Regions from separate parts of the Homo sapiens genome. Here regions 2, 3, 4 and 5 are each linked to region 1. The links are contacts of gene promoters, found by promoter capture Hi-C in human tissues and cell types (Jung and others, 2019). All regions are on one chromosome and are shown on one strand. The core of a region is centred on a gene start or on the middle of the fragment in contact, and the rest is flanking DNA. Distances in the headings are between cores, read along the strand shown.

Region 1 (3,198 bases), core at 316-2,815:
TTGGCCTTCCAGCTCTCCAACTCAGATCCTGAGCCTCCTAAGCTCCCGCGGAGACCCTGAAGTCCCGGATCTGGCGCCGCTCGCCGACCTGGAGGGAGGCTGCACCGCTGAAGTGCAGTCTCGGAGCTGCGCTCCTCTGGAACAAAGCAGCCAGACGTGGCTTGAGTGGATTCCTAAGCCAAGGATTGGATCCGGAGTACCAGGGGCAGAGAGGGGGAGCAGAGGAAAGAAAGGAGATGTGAGGAGTTTCCACCTAAAGCACTTCACTCCTCGTGTTCTTCCCCGACAGAGATAGCTGTGTGGTTCTTCCTTACGCGTGGGTGCAGGTGTGCGCGCTTGGGGTGAGCCCATGGTTGTGCTCGAGTATACGGGCGCCTGTGCACCTCCAGGGCAATGGTAAAGCCTGGCAGAGCTCTTTTTGGAACAAAATGAAGGAGCTCCATATCCACGGAGGCCACCCGTATGGGCCTTTGCCAAGTAGGGCAGAAGAAGCCCTTGTTAGCCAGCTTCCCTTTGCAACTTCCTACTCTTCCTTTGGGTACAGACTGGTGTCTGGGCTAGCTAGGATCACAGCTGAGAGCGAAGGTGCTCTCAGTGTCCGAAGACCACGTGCTGGTGAACCCACAATGAGAAGCGAAAGGGTTTCAGGACTCTAGCAGAAAGGAAGAGCAAGATTTCACTCAGGGTTTCTTAGAAGAAAGAGTTAACTTTGCTCACTGGCTTTTCCAGGATGGAGGGAGTGGGGATAGGGTCGGGGAGAGAAGCATTGGGAGTCTTGTCGGAGTCTCAAGCAAAACCAGGCGAGGGCTCCGGGCAGATCCATTCCCGCAGGGCCCTGTCTAACCTCCTTTCCAGTCGCACCTCTTTCCTGCTTTAGACCCTGCGTCTGTGCCGGTGACCTTAGAGACTAGGTCTGGCTTATGAAGACTGTTGGGCTCCCTTTCTGCCCTTCACATAGTAAAATGTGACCAACTGCAGTATTCGTAATGTCTGATGCTGAGCTGAGTTGATTCCCAAATATAAATGTTCTTTTCAGAATCCGCTCCCATCTGATTAGTAAGCAAATCACCACCCACAACTAAGGGGACAGCGGAAGCCAGCCTCAGATGACTGAAACCCCCAAGTCAGTAGCTCTCCTCAAAATTTCCGGCGGGTTATTATAGATAATGACTTTTCCCACCGCCCTAAGCAGCCGAAGCTTGACTCAGTGATGATTCTCTCTATCCCGTAACTGCGAGGAAGTGGGCGATCAGCAAATTGCCCTTTTGCAGGAGGCTGGGGACGCCCCTGGAAGTTCGCTTTCATTCTCCAGGTTTTCTGCCTTTTCCCTTCCCCCTTCCTGCAACGCCCCCGCGCCTCCTCAGCCTGGGGATTTCCTGGCGCTTCGCCGGCCCTCTCCGCAACCCCCTGATAAATCGGTTCAGAACCAGTCTGGCTGGGAGGCCCGAGGGCTGACAGCAGCGGAGCGGCCCCGGCCGGGGTCTCACGGACTCTCGGGGTCTGGCCGACACGGCCGCTCCCGTCACTGCAGCGCGGGCTGAGCTCACGGCCGCGCGCCCGCCGCCGCCGCCGCCGCCGCCTTCATGCTGCAGCGCAGGGCTCAGTTCCACGCGGCCAGGAGGCCGCCGTTGCCCACACGCGACGCTTTGGGAAGCCCAGCTCCCGGGTCCGCCCCGGCCGCGGCCGCAGCCCCGGACCTCGGCTGCTTGCCTCGCGCCTGAACTGCGGACTCGCCCCAGCGCGGTGGCCAGCGGGCGGGGCGCTGTGTTCCGCGGCGCGCAGGGAGGCGGTGAGCGTGTGCAGAGCTGCCCGAACGGAGGACTATGTATGTGTGTGCGCGTGTTTGCGTGTGTTTGAGCGTGTTTTTCCTTCTTCCCTTGAGGATGTGAATTGTTTAGCAGCTGGCTGCTCCCTTAGGATCCTTGACTTTGGGGAGCTCTGGCTGTGAACACAGCCCACCCATATAATCCATTTTGCACGGTCCGTTATATCAGAAAAAAAAAGCGCAACTGGACGGGGGTGGGGCAGACCAACGAAACCTAGACAGACACACACACACTCAGAGGAGAGAGGAAGAATTGAAAGACTTGAGAAGACTTTGATAACCTCCCTGCTGGCCCTTCTGTGTTCCGGAAAGATCCTGGATGTTGGCTACCTTTTCAAGTCATCTTGGCATGTCTCTAGTGTTTTGTAAGCCGCTTTCCAGCTAGCTGCGTGTGTGTGTGCGCGCGCGTGTGTACGCGCGCGCCTATCTGATGCATTTGACTGTCTTTTATCCAACTGCCCAGAAGCAAATGTGTTAACTCGGCGATGCCCCTTCATGCCCGGGTTCTTGCAGAGCTCTGAGGACGCCCAGACCCATTTTCCTGGCTGGATTTGGAGCGGCTGCTGGGCTGTGGACCCAGGTGTGTGGATCGCTTTACCCAGAAGCTTGGAAAGCGCCAATATTAACCTGCTTCCAGGTACATCACAAGGTCAAGAGAGTGTCTTGCAGCCCTCTTGTTTCCGTGTATCTACACCTTCTTCTCTTGGCCAGAAGGATATTTACGTTTTGGTTCACAGCATTTGAAGCCAAAAGTTCAGCCCTTCGAACTGGTTTGCTATACAAAACAAAACAAAACAAATAAGGTAATGAGGATTGCTTATTAAACTGCTTAACAAAATCCCCGACTCTTCCTCAGCCCTTTCTCGGCTCCCTCCTCCCCACCAAAATGTCACCAGCTCTTGAATTACGTGGATTCGGGTTGGAGGAGAACTTGAAGGAAACGTGATTAAAGGGCTATGCGAGAACGCTCTCTTTGCTGCCCGCGGTCCGGTGGGCTTCGAAGCCAATCGTGAGAAGGACCGGTTCCCTCCGTGCTGCTTCCTCCCCGTGCAGTGCTGGGTGTGCGTGTGCGAGTGTGAGTGCAAGTGCGCGCGCGCCCGGGTGCGAGTGTGTGTGAGTGTGAGCGTGTGTCTGTGTGTGCGTGCGCGGCCGCCCTGCCTCTGCCCGCTCCCCGGGCGCGGAGCCGCGGGTTTCATGGGGCGATTGCAGCGATTCCCCCACCCAGAGCGACCTGCGGGCAGCGGCGGCAGTGGCAGGAGCCGCCTTTCCGATTCCCTACGATGCGGGTGCTGAGCTATGGCAAAGGGCAGCGAAGTGACGAGCGAGACCCGCGTACGACTGTGAAAGCCACCTGGAGCCACCTTGCCGGGATT
Region 2 (3,198 bases), core at 318-2,817, 1.8 Mb before region 1:
AGATACAATAACACTGGTTTCTTTTCATAAATTGAAATCATAAGATGTTTTGAATGTGAGCAAATATTGGGAAATTTTAAAACTCTATTTATGGCATCTTTATGGCTTTGAATATCCTATGACATAAAATGTGTCCAAGACTCCCTTTCTAATCAGACATAATCATGATGGGGGTGGGGAGAAGACAGGCCTTACATTAGGTGATGAAAGCACTCAAAGCCTTGACTATGGTTTAAATAAGACAAACTTTAAGTAGAGGGTCACATGACTTTTTAGTATGAACTCTTTTCATCTCTGGAACTCTTTGCCATCTTTAATAATAAGAAGTAGAGCTTCAAAGCTTACAACTTGTGAGAATCCAGGTGACTGTAATGGGTTCTTCTGTGCTTACTTTACCTGAACTGAGTGAATAACTATGGACATCTCAGAAGGTCAAGTGGCTAAAACTTGTCTTTAAATAACTAATTCTGTCAGATCTTCTCATTCTGAATCAAGGATGAGGCACCAAAAATGTTTAAGATCTAGGAGTGCTAAGAAAGATATAAAAGAGGATTTTAAATTTTGTAATTGCATTCCAACAAATAGATGATCTGTCTGCCTTTAAGCACCTGGATGTTGAGAGCTTAATGTAATTGACCTCATACAGGTTGTGAAGAAAATTAGAAATGCAGTCTCATGCTGAGAGCTATCAACAACTTGGATCTAGCCTGAGGCTCAGCTTTTACTACCTAAAAACATACATGTATTTATTTCCCAAAGTGCATTACTTAGAACACTAGTCCTATAAGACACTCCGTGGAAAAAAATGTTCCATAGTTAAATTTAATTTTGGGAAATAGCATATATCTATCTCTTAGATAATTATAATACACTTTAACGTATAAAATAAGGTTTCTGATAATTCAGATAGTAAATGAAAACCAAAAACAACAAAAAATTATTTAACTTTGTTTTCTATTTATCCTAATGATGTCTCTCTCTCTCTCAACACAGACACATACTCATCACTCCTTTTAGGACCTTATAGAACTAGTAATTATGGCAGTATCTTCTTGGCATAAAAATAGGCCAATGGAATAGAATAGAGAGTCCAGTAACAGACCCTTATTGTAATTTGACCGAGAGGACACTGAACTGCAGTGGATAATGTATGCTCTTTTTGATAAAAGGTACTGGGATCGATTGGATACCATTGGAGAAAAAAAAAACAATCCTTACCATGTATCTAAATATAACAGGTAAAACAACATGGCTTTAGAAGAAAATATATTAGAATATCTTTATGACATGGAGAACAAACTTATATTAACACATAAAGTAAAAAGAATGGTAAATTGGCCCACATTTAAATTAAGAATTTCTCTTCATCAAAAGACACCATTAAGAAAATAAAGAGCCAAGCCACAGATTAGGAAAAAAATATTTGTACTATATATGAAAAAAGACTTATTCTTAAAATATACAACAAAACTGCTACAAGTAAGTATTAAAGAGACGCAATCCAATAGAAAAAATAGACAAAAGATTTGAACAGTCATGTCACAAAAGAGGATATTCAAATAGCCAAAAGAGATATAAAAAAGTTGGCCAAGTACAGTGGCTCATGCCTGTCATCTCAGCAGTTTGGGAGGCCAAGGTGGGAGGATCACTTGAGGCCAGGAGTTTGAGACCAGCCTGGCTGACATGGTGAAACCCCGTCTCTACTAAAACACAAAAATTAGCTGGGCGTGGTAGAGCGTGCCTGTAATCCCAGCTACTCGGGAGACTGAGGCAGGAGAATCACTCGAACCCTGGAGGCCGAGGTTGTGTTGAGGCAAGATTGCACCACTGCACTCTGGCCTGGGTAATAGAGTGAGTGAGACTCCGTCTCAAAAAAAAAAAAAAGATACAAAAAGTACTCAAACTCATTAGTTATAAGACAAATGAAAATTAAAACTACAGTGTGATTATAAACTAATGACCTAAAATAAAAGAAAATTCCAAGTGTTGTAAAGGATGTGTACCAATGGCAACTCTTATCAACTGTTGGTGACAGTGTAAATGAGTATAACCACTTGGGAAAGCTGGTTGGCAATAATGACTAAAGCTGCATATATGCTTCTCTTATGACAACATGGATCATAGGATGCTTAGATTACATACACAGCAAAAATGCATATATGTGTTCACCAAAAGACATGTACTAGAATGTTCATGGCAGCATTATTTTTGAGGAATAATGGAGTCTCCCTGAAATGAAGACAACCCAAATGTTTATCAGCAGTAGAATAGATACAGTGTGATGAATTCACACAATGGAATAACATACATCAGTGAGAATGAACTTCAACTATGCATAACATGGATAAATCTCACTAATATAATTTTGAGTTATAACAGATGAAAAAGAGTGCATGGATGATTTGTTTACATAAAGTTTATAAACAGGCAAAACTAATCTCTGGTATTAGATATCAATGCAGTGGTTACTCTGGAAGGGGACTCATAGGAGATCCTGGGATGCTAGTAATCTTTCTTCATCTGTGTGTTGGTTTCAATTTGTGAAATTTATTGAGTAATGTACTTATGATTTGTGCATTTTCCTAAACATTTGATATAAACTTATGTGCCACATATGACATTTTGATCAATGACAGATTGCATATACGGTAGTCACATAAGATTATGATACTATATTTTTACAATACCTTTTTATGTTTAAATACGCAAATACTTACCATTGCGTGGCAGTTGCCTGTGTTATTCAGTACAGTAACGTGCTGTATAGCCTTGTAGCCTAGAAACAATAGTCTATACCATATATCCTAGGGGTGCAGTAGGTGTATACCATCTAGGGGTATACATTCTGTGATACTTGCACAACAACAACATTGCCTAAGGACTCATTTCTCAGAAGGTATCCTCATCATTTAAGGGATGCATGACCATACTAAAATAAAAAGTATGCTAAAAAGAGCAGATACATCAAAATACAACTTTCCTTAAAGAAAGATTCTTAGATCTGGGCTTCCAAGGAACACACGGGAAAATGCTGACCTCCTCACACATTGATATGTATTGTTCAAGACATATATATTTTTATTGAAGTAAGATCAGATGAAATGATATTCTAGCAAAAACATTAATGGATACTTTTTCAATTAATGTCCAAATTTATCATTATTTATACATTAAAGATGATGCAGCACTGAATGATAA
Region 3 (3,198 bases), core at 452-2,951, 1.7 Mb before region 1:
ACTTAATTGTTTGCCCACAAATTATTAGCTCTTTTTTTTTAAAATTTTATTATTATTACACTTTAAGTTTTAGGGTACATGTGCACAATGTGCAGGTTTGTTACATATGTATACATGTGCCATGTTGGTGTGCTGCACCCATTAACTCATCATTTAACATTAGGTATATCTCCTAATGCTATCCCTCCCCCCTCCCCCCACCCCACAACAGTCCCCAGAGTGTGATGTTCCCCTTCCTGTGTCTATGTGTTCTCATCGTTCAATTCCCACCTATGAGTGAGAACATGCGGTGTTTGGTTTTTTGTCCTTGTGATGGTTTGCTGAGAATGATGGTTTCCAGCTTCATCCATGTCCCTACAAAGGACATGAACTCATCATTTTTTATGGCTGCATAGTATTCCATGGTGTATATGTGCCACATTTTCTTAATCCAGTCTATCATTGTTGGACATTTGGGTTGGTTCCAAGTCTTTGCTATTGTGAATAGTGCTGCCATAAACATACATATGCATGTGTCTTTATAGCTCTTTAACATAGAAGCTTAGAGGAAGGAGAAGTGCCTAAGAAAATTTAATTCTGAAGTGTTGGGATTCATTCCCCAATAAGGTCTAACCAGATTTGAAGGAGAGGGTGAACATTTATGGCTTTCTTTTCCATTACTTAAAGGATTATTACATAGAAGAATAAGTGTTCTGTGGGCTCTAGAGGCTAAAATGAGGTCAATTACTGCTTATTTGTTCCCTTGTTTAATAAATAATTACCGAGTGCCTTCTCTGTGCAATATGCTGTGGATTCAGGTCCGCACTCTGCTTTCTTTAGTGCCCCCTGGACTGGAAAGTTATGGAAAGGTAATTTTTGTTACAATATGAGGAAGAATCATGATGTTTGCAGCCAAATAGGGCAGTGAGCTCCCCGTCACTGACGCTGTTTTGGGAGAGAATGGATGAAAATTTGTTAAGAATATTATAGGAGGGAATGCTTGCCTCATGGAAGAGGAGGTGCTAGTTTATTAGTGAGTCACCTGATCTGATTCTGTGAAGAATACAAATGAATATAGGTGGTTTGATTTGATTGAGTTATAATTTAGAGAATGCTTTTCCAGTGAATACTTAGATAAGCATTTGTTGGCCTAAGGTGAGATAAAGATACCTTCCTTTTTATGAAGCAACCCTAAAAACTACCACAGTTGGCCTGTGAAAAAACATAAATGCAATCTCAGTTGTTGAAATGCCACCTGTTGTCCTACTTGGCCTATAGTTTATTCCCTTATGTAACCAGGTTAACATTACTTTGCTTGCTTTGACCATTTGTTTCTATTTATTATCTTTGCAACTTCTATGCAGCTCCTTGAACATAGGACACTATATTAGTGGTTCCATCTGACTGTGAATAATACAACCATTCCTTCTTTAGGATCTGGGCTTGACGTGACCCTCAGGAGTGGTCTTAGCAAAAGTTCGTTTTGTTTATCCACACTCTTCTGTTCTCTCCTCTCCCACTCCTTTTTCTAGTATGAGCTAGGGGAATGTTTCTCCATCAAGTTAGATAGAACTAGGAATGCGTCTGTCTCTCTCTCTGTGTGTGTGTGTGTGTGTGTGTATGTGTGTGTGTGTGTGTGTGTTTTGTACAAAATATATTTCTGTATTTCAGATATATCTGTATCCCAACTGCTTAAAACATCTAAATTCCCCTAAGAGTTTAAGGTTTTTTGAAAAAGAAAATTTTAGAAAAACTGTTAAGGAGTTTTTCAGTTCTCCATTCCTCCCTTGACATCAAGAGTGAGGGAGTAGACAGCCAATATCATATAAAATGGGCAAAAGCTGGAAGCATTCCCCTTGCAAACTGATACAAGACAAGGATGCCCTCTCTCACCACTCCTATTCAACATAGTATTGGAAATTCTGGCCAGGGCAATCAGGCAAGAGGAAGAAACGAAGGATATTCAAATGGGAAAAGAAGAAGTTAAATTGTCTTCATTTGCAGATGGCATGATCTTATATCTAGAAAACCCCATTGTCTCAGCCCCAAAGCTTTTTAAGCTGATAAGCAACTTCAGCAAAGTCTCAGGATACAAAATCAATGTGCAGATTTCACAAGCATTCCAATACACCAACAAGAGACAAGCAGAGAGCCAAATCATGAATGAACTCCCATTCACAATTGCTACAAAAAGAATAAAATACCTAGGAATACAGCCAACAAGGGAAGTAAAGGACCTCTTCAAGGAGAGCTACAAACCACTGCTCAAGGAAATCAGAGAGGACACAAACAAATGGAAAAACATTCCGTGCTCATAGACAGGAAGAATCAATATTGTGAAAATGGCCATACTGCCTAAAGTAATATACAGATTCAATGCTGTTCCCATCAAACTACCATTGACACTCTTCACGGAATTAGAAAAAAAACTATATTTCATATGCAATCAAAGAAGACCCTGTATAGTCAAGACAATCCCAAGTAAAAAGAACAAAGCTGTTATCAGACTTCAAACTATACTACAAGGCTACAATAACCAAAACAGCATGGTACTGGTACAATAACAGACACATAGACCAACAGAGATAACTCAGAAAGAAGACTACACATCTACAACCATCTGATCTTCAACAAACCTGACAAAAACAAGCAATGGGGACAGGATTCCCTTTTTAATAAATGGTGCTGGGAAAACTGGCTAGCTATACGTAAAAAATTGAAACTGAATCCCTTCCTTTCACCTTTTACAAAAATTAACATGATGGATTAAAGACTTAAATGTAAAGCCCAAAACTATAAAAACGCTAAAAGAAAATCTAGGCAATACCATTAAAGACATAGGCATGGACAAAGATTCCATGACAAAATGCCAAAAGCAATTGCAACAAAAGCAAAAATTGACAAATAGGATCTAATTAAAGAGCTTCTGCACAGCAAAAGAAATGGTCATCAGAGCAAAGAGGCAACCTACAGAGTGGAAGAAAATTTTTGCAAGCTATTCATCTGACAAAGGTCTAATATCCAGAATCTACAAGGAACTTAAACAAATTTCCAAGAAAAAACAACCCCATTAAAAAGTGGGCAATAGACATGAACAGACACTTCTCAAAAAAAGACATTCATGTAGCCAACAAACATGAAAAGAAGCTCAGCATCATTGATGATTAGAGAAATGCAAATCAAAACCACAATGAGATACCATCTCATGACAGTCAGAAT
Region 4 (3,198 bases), core at 221-2,720, 1.6 Mb before region 1:
GAACATTGCCTCATTATATACATTCCCCAAAGTTCCATGGCTTTCCTAAGTTCAGTCTCATTTCCTCTTTGTAATCTTCTTCTCCTCCTCACCCTTTCCTGAGGTCTACCTGTGGGACATACATACTGGCCAAAGTACATAACTGAATGTTGCTGTGGTCTATAGGAGCAGTGGTGACCAAATGATATGTTAGAATAAAGCACAAGTGCTTCTTCCTGAGGCTCAAATGTCTAGGCAGCTGATCACTGGCTGATCTTAGCTAGGTGTTTGCTGTTCTTATTTCTCTTTCATTCACAAATTCCCCACCTGCCCTCTATTTTTTTCTGAAATCTGACCCTTAGGGTTGTGGTTTTTACAAGCATACTCCAATTGATATTCTTATAAGTACATAACTATAAGTATACTCATAATAGGCACACAAGAGAGAAGGAGAAGGCAATGGAAAGATGGATGCAGACATGACAGTGATATAGCCACAAGACAAGGAAGCCAAGGATTGCAGAAAGCCACCAGAAGTTGGAAAGAGGCAAAGAGGGATTCTCCCTTAGAGCTTCCAGAAGGAGTCTACTTTTACCTATATCTTGATTTTGGACTTTTGGCTGACAGAATTGTAAGAGAATAAAATTCTGTTGTTTTAAGACATCTAATCTGTGATAATTTGTTGTGGCAGCTGTAGGAAACTAGTATAGATTTTGGTAGGGGGAAGTGGAGTGCTGCTGTAACAAATGCCTAAAAACATGGAAGTGGTTTTAGAAATGGATAATAGGTAGAGGCTGGAAGAATTTTGAGGCCAAGATAGAAAAAGCCAAATTATGGTGAGTGCTCAGAAGGAAGTGAGGAACATGCTAGAGAAAGCTTCTCTCATCTTCGATAATACATATAGTGACATGAGCAAAAATGTTTCTGATAAGAGCTCAGAAGGAAACAAGGAGCATGTTATTATAAACTGGAGGAAAGGTAATCCTTGTTAAATTAGTAGAAAAAACTTTGGCCAAATTGTGTCCTATAGTTGTATGGAAAACAGAACTTGTAGGTGATAGCCTTTGATATTTAGCCAAGGAAATTTCCAAGCTAAGTATTAATGGTGTGGCTTTGTTTCTTCATTTTGATTACAATAAAATGAAAAAGATAAATTGAGGAAGGAACCATTGAGGCAAAAAAAGCAGCACTTGTGATTTGGGAAATTTGCAATATATACAGATTGCAAAAGATGCTACTATTAGGAAAGCATGCTCTGGAGAGAAGCCAAGGGTATGGCTGGACCACCTTTTGCTGAGATTAGATGTATGTCTTATGGAATCATACATACACTCAACCTTGTCAGAAGAAGCCAGGAATAGAGAGGAGGTTATCCAGGGAAATCTGTGGAGGACCTTCTTCCCTAATGACACAAGACCAGTTGACATACTTAGGAAATCCACAAGGTTTGTGAAGATTTTATGTCTGCAGACACACTACCAGGCTGGACTGAAAGAGACAGAGGATAAAATGAAAGAAGGCTATTGGACTTCTGGGAGTCTAAAGGCAGGAAATGGGCTGCAAGAACTACTTACCTAGAAACATGTGCTACCTTTCAAGAATAATGATTCCAATGCCAGAGCTATGATCCCAGAGACATATGATCCCAGAGCCACAGGCCCAGATGCCTACTAGGCCAGAGCAGCAGGCCCAATGAGTGGAGCCTAGAGTCACAGAGGATTATTCTTGGGCCTTGAAACCTAATATTTCTTTTGCTGCACGTTAGACTTTCTAGGGATGGGTGACTTCTTTATTCCAATTTCTCCTCTTTGAAATGGGAATATCTATAACTGTTACCCTATTCCATTCTCACCATTTTATCTTAAAAGCAGATAACTTGTTTTATAGTTTCACAGCTCCACAGGTGGAGAGGAATTTGGCTCCAGGATTATTCATACCTAGTTTTGTTACAGTAGGTAGCTAGTCAGACATTAGCAGGTCAGGGGAGGCTTCCTTTACCAACCCAGGAATGTTAGGCAACCATCAGGTGATGGTCAGATGGTTGTTAACTGTCTCTCTAAAATAATAATTGGTCATAGCCAGTACAAGGGAAAGGAAGTCTTCCAATAAATAGAAACACCTGAAACTGGTGATTAGCAGCTTCCCAATAAGGTCTCAGGAGTTGGGCCTGGGCTCAAACATGTGCACTAAATGGCAAAACAGTGGAGTTTAAGTGGTAGATGACCTTCTAGGAACATTTGGTGAGGGAAGAACACCACAAATGAGCATGTGTACAACTCCAGTAAACACACTGTACATATGACCCCTCCCAAGTGCTGGCAGGACACTGCAAATGTGGACAGCCCACCCCAAGGAAAGAGTCAGTAGAGAAGGGACACAACCCCCGGGAAGCATGCTGGCATATAAACTCCAACTCAAAGATCAAACTGTGCACTTAATCTCTCAAGTTGCCTGCTTGGCCATCTTCCAAGCATACTATTTATTTTTTGTCATTCCTGCTCTAAAGCTTTTTAATAAACTTTCACTCCTGCTCTAAAATATGCCTCGGTCTTTCACTCTGCCTTGGTCTTTCACTCTGCCTTATGCCCCTTGGTCAAATTGTTTCTTCTGAGGAGGCAAGGATTGAGGTTGCTGCAGACCCATATGGATTCACTGCTGCTAACAGTTTTACCCATACCTGATTTAGATGAAGAGATTTGGGACTTTTGAGCTCATGACATTCAGATAGGATTTTATACTTACAGTTGACGGCTGTGATAGGCTGATATTTCAGAGGATGTTGGGATGGCCTGAATGTGTTTTGCACATTGGAAAAATATAAATATTTGAGGGCAATAGGGTGGACTATAGTGGTTTGAATTCTGGCTCTCAAAAACATATGTACACATGTAAATCTCTGAAACCAATGAAAACTACCTTATTTGGAAAAAAGGTTTTTGCAGATATAATTAAATAACCTTGAGACATTATCCTGGATTACCCAGGTGGGCCTTAAATTCAATGCCAAGGGTCTTTACAAGAGAGAGAAGAGAGAAAGATACACATGCAGGAGAAGGCAGTGTGGAGACAGGGGCAGAGATTGGTTTCATGTGGCCATAAGCCAAGGAGGTCAAGGAATGCCAGCATCTGCCAGAAGCGGGAAGAGGCAAGGAAGGAGTCTCCTCTTGAGCTTCTGGAGGTAGTGTGGCCCTGCTGACACCCTAATTTTGGACTTTTGTC
Region 5 (3,198 bases), core at 478-2,977, 1.5 Mb after region 1:
AAAAATTAAATTTTAAAAATGGAAATAATTTGATGATAATAGGGAGGTAAGAGGATGTCAGGCAGAGGAAGGAGCTTATGTAAAACTACCATATTTGGAAGAAGAACAGATACACTGCTATGGAAGAAGGCCACGTTCAGGATAAACTGGGGAACTAATTTGGGGCTAAACTCTGTTAGTGCTTGTAGGTCATGTGGTTTGCTTTTTGATTAGATAAAACAAGAATTTAGGGAATTTATTAGAGGAAGCGTGGATAGGTGTGAACATTGTCCATGGAGATCTGCTGTGTATTCCCAGTGTTATAAGGAGCAAGTACCAGAAAATCTGGTCAGTCTTCTGCTGCACTTGCCTCTTGCCTTGTTATTGAGTGATTTAATGATTCTGTGAAAGCTTTTCAGAGTTTGATGAACTACGCTTAGTCACACTGGAGAAAGAGTTTTGCTCAAGTGTCCTTTGATGGAGGAGGCATCACCTCTCTTTCCACATGACAATATTCATATAATTAATACATATTTATTTATATAAAAGTATCAGCTATCTTTGTTAAAAATACCTGAATGCAACTAGATACATTTCATCAAATTTTGTGATTTATGTTTGACAGGATCTGACTTAAAATATACATCATTTGAAGTATATCAACTTCTCTTTTGGTAGTCCTGGGGAGGACCTAAGGAGACAGACAACAATCATCCAGAGTAGCTGCTGATATTCATTACTCATAGAAAATCTTTGTACATGCAAATATCGACAAAGTAAGCAAAGATGTTACCAACAGCAATAATTTATTTATACATATTGATAATTTTATGTGTCAACTTGGCCAGATCTCCATTCTATTAGCCTGTCCTACAGATTTCATATTTGTCAGACCCCATGGGCTCTTCCTTAAAATCATTTAGATAAATATCTGTATGTAGATAGACATATAGGTATATTTATGCATCTATGTAGCAGTCAATATATGTATCTATACAATTATGTATGTATGTATGTATTTACCTACCTACCTATCTGTCCTGTTGGTTCTGTTTCTCTGGAGAACCCCAAGATCTATGAAGTTCATGGTCTTCCCCCCTGATCATTTGCCTGAACTACATGGGAAGGAAGATGAGTGTGTATTTGTGTTTGTGTGTGTGTGTGTGTGCAAGTATGTTTGTCTGTATGTACAATGTGTGCATTACACTAGTGAAAACAAAAAATATTAATATTATTTGATGCTTAATAAAGGAATAATTTTTTTGTTATTCTTTACTTCAAAGCTCTAGTTTCTATGTTAAAAATCTGTCACTGATTATTATTACTATTAGAAAAATTATATAGAAAATGATTATAATAAATTCATGGCTCAAGGCAGCTTAGCAAACACATCATCGACTCCTTCTCTATTAATTGATCCTTTATTCAGATTCTTTTGTATGATAATTTGGGGGTACATTTGTATCACAATATAAAGGAAGTTAAACAAAACAGACTAATGAAATAGAAATGCTACCGTATAAAGAGAAAAAATAATTAGAAAAGGTAAAAACACTAAATAACAGATTGTATTTGAAAGCATCTGTTAGTCAAAATTCGAGCAGTTGATACACGACAATATATGCTATGCCATATTAGATTCTAGACACACACACACAACATATAATTCACAATTTTTATTTTAACACCACAGCTATCAGTAAACTTTATTTATAAACCATCCTCATAATGATCTTAAGAGAATTTTGGAGAAAAATTAAATATCTTTTTATGTCTTGGGGAAATGTTAGGAAATTTAGGGGCCCTTTCATTGTTGCTGACATTTTGTTCCCCAACCTATGCTTACATGAGAAATTAACCTGAAAAATTAAACTTCCAACTAAATTAAGCTACTGAATCATATGTATTAAAAAAAAATTCTGTGGCTTAGTCTAACTATGCTATGAGGAATCTGCAATATATTACCCATCCTTGGTTCCAAGTTCATAGAGTTTGAGTGAACATCCTGTTCAATCTCACCATTACCTTATGCGTGTAAGTCATAGGACACTGCATTTCAAGCTTAAGGACTATTATCAAAAAATGCTTCATATGCTCTACTTTTTTTCTATATTATAAGTGTAGATGGGTTGGTAAAAATATTTCCTGAAATTTGATATATGCTTTTTGAGGACATGTCCTGTATTTCAGTCATCTAATATTTAATCATGAGCTCAGTAAAGTAAGAATAGGTCATGATATCCAAGCTTTATAACTTGGCATTGATATTAATTATTCATTTACAGAAAGAAAACTAATAGGTTTGTGTCTTACCCTGTTTTATGCTGCTATAACACAATACCTGAGACTAAGTACTTTATAAATAAATACGTTTTTATTTCTCACAGTCCTGGAGGCTGGTAGTCCAAGATTAATAGACCACCCTTTTCTCTGGTTGTCAGATGGCTCCTTGTTGATGTATCTTCCAGAGAGGATCAACACTGTGTCCTCACAAGGTGGAAGAGAAGAGAAAGAACCCACTCCAGCAAGCCCTTTTATTCCAGCATTAATCCAGTCATGAGGGCAGAGCCATCCTTATAATAGACTCCACCTCTGAACAATGTTGCATTGGTGATTAAGTTTCCAGCACATGAGATTGGGAAATATATTCAGACTATAGCAGTAGGTATACATCAATTGTCCTCTAAATGAGCGAAGACTGAAATTTGATTCTGATCACTTAGTTTTGTCTGCCTCAAGTATTTCACTCAGAATTGTATAGTCCAAATGACATTCCTCATTTCTCAGTAAATTGAACATTGTACAAAATAAAGTTATGAACTCTGGGAATTGAGGTATATAGAATGTATTTTAAATAGTATTTGTTATCACAGATAATGAATTTAAATTAGAATGCTTTAAACCACAAAAGCACTCTTTTCCATTTCCCTGCAAATATCTGTTGTTTATGGACTCTGACTGCTTTGTAATGTCTTTTAAGGCAGCATTAATATAAAAAATCATTAACCATATTATATGACATTTTGTTATCTGAATTTCTCCAAACATTAAAAAATAGATCCCATTCGGTTTTAAATAGTATATTATAGAAGTTATGGTATACTAATTATCCTTACTGCTATTGTCGTAAAGAAAATAGCTCTAAAAATTAAGTGATAGACATAAACAGTTTGTCTTTTAGTCTTTATGATTCGTATTATTTTTTGTTTTAAAAATGCT

What was found. Contacts are between HindIII fragments. The study calls those that stand out against the background at their distance.
Region 2: a fragment that was not itself captured here is called in contact with the fragment with the promoter of LRFN5 in region 1 in 1 of the 25 tissues and cell types used here (dorsolateral prefrontal cortex).
Region 3: a contact is called between a fragment that was not itself captured here and the fragment with the promoter of LRFN5 in region 1, in 1 of the 25 tissues and cell types used here (dorsolateral prefrontal cortex).
Region 4: a contact is called between a fragment that was not itself captured here and the fragment with the promoter of LRFN5 in region 1, in 1 of the 25 tissues and cell types used here (dorsolateral prefrontal cortex).
Region 5: a contact is called between a fragment that was not itself captured here and the fragment with the promoter of LRFN5 in region 1, in 1 of the 25 tissues and cell types used here (dorsolateral prefrontal cortex).

Annotation. Positions count from the first base shown.
Region 1 is chr14:41,605,311-41,608,508 of GRCh38, forward strand. LRFN5 (leucine rich repeat and fibronectin type III domain containing 5) reads left to right here and starts at 1,566. Exons shown (of 6, transcript NM_152447.5): 1 at 1,566-3,198. The HindIII fragment of the contact is 3,229 bases long and covers 1-2,947 here.
Region 2 is chr14:39,755,960-39,759,157 of GRCh38, forward strand. All of the region lies in intron 5 of LOC105370461 (a long non-coding RNA gene), which reads left to right. Among named protein-coding and RNA genes, the nearest start is that of FBXO33, 330 kb to the left of the region's middle. The HindIII fragment of the contact is 4,081 bases long and covers 1-3,198 here.
Region 3 is chr14:39,950,311-39,953,508 of GRCh38, forward strand. No RefSeq gene overlaps it. Among named protein-coding and RNA genes, the nearest start is that of FBXO33, 520 kb to the left of the region's middle. The HindIII fragment of the contact is 4,701 bases long and covers 1-3,198 here.
Region 4 is chr14:39,968,245-39,971,442 of GRCh38, forward strand. No RefSeq gene overlaps it. Among named protein-coding and RNA genes, the nearest start is that of FBXO33, 540 kb to the left of the region's middle. The HindIII fragment of the contact is 5,096 bases long and covers 1-3,198 here.
Region 5 is chr14:43,148,870-43,152,067 of GRCh38, forward strand. No RefSeq gene overlaps it. Among named protein-coding and RNA genes, the nearest start is that of LINC02307, 1.2 Mb to the right of the region's middle. The HindIII fragment of the contact is 3,324 bases long and covers 66-3,198 here.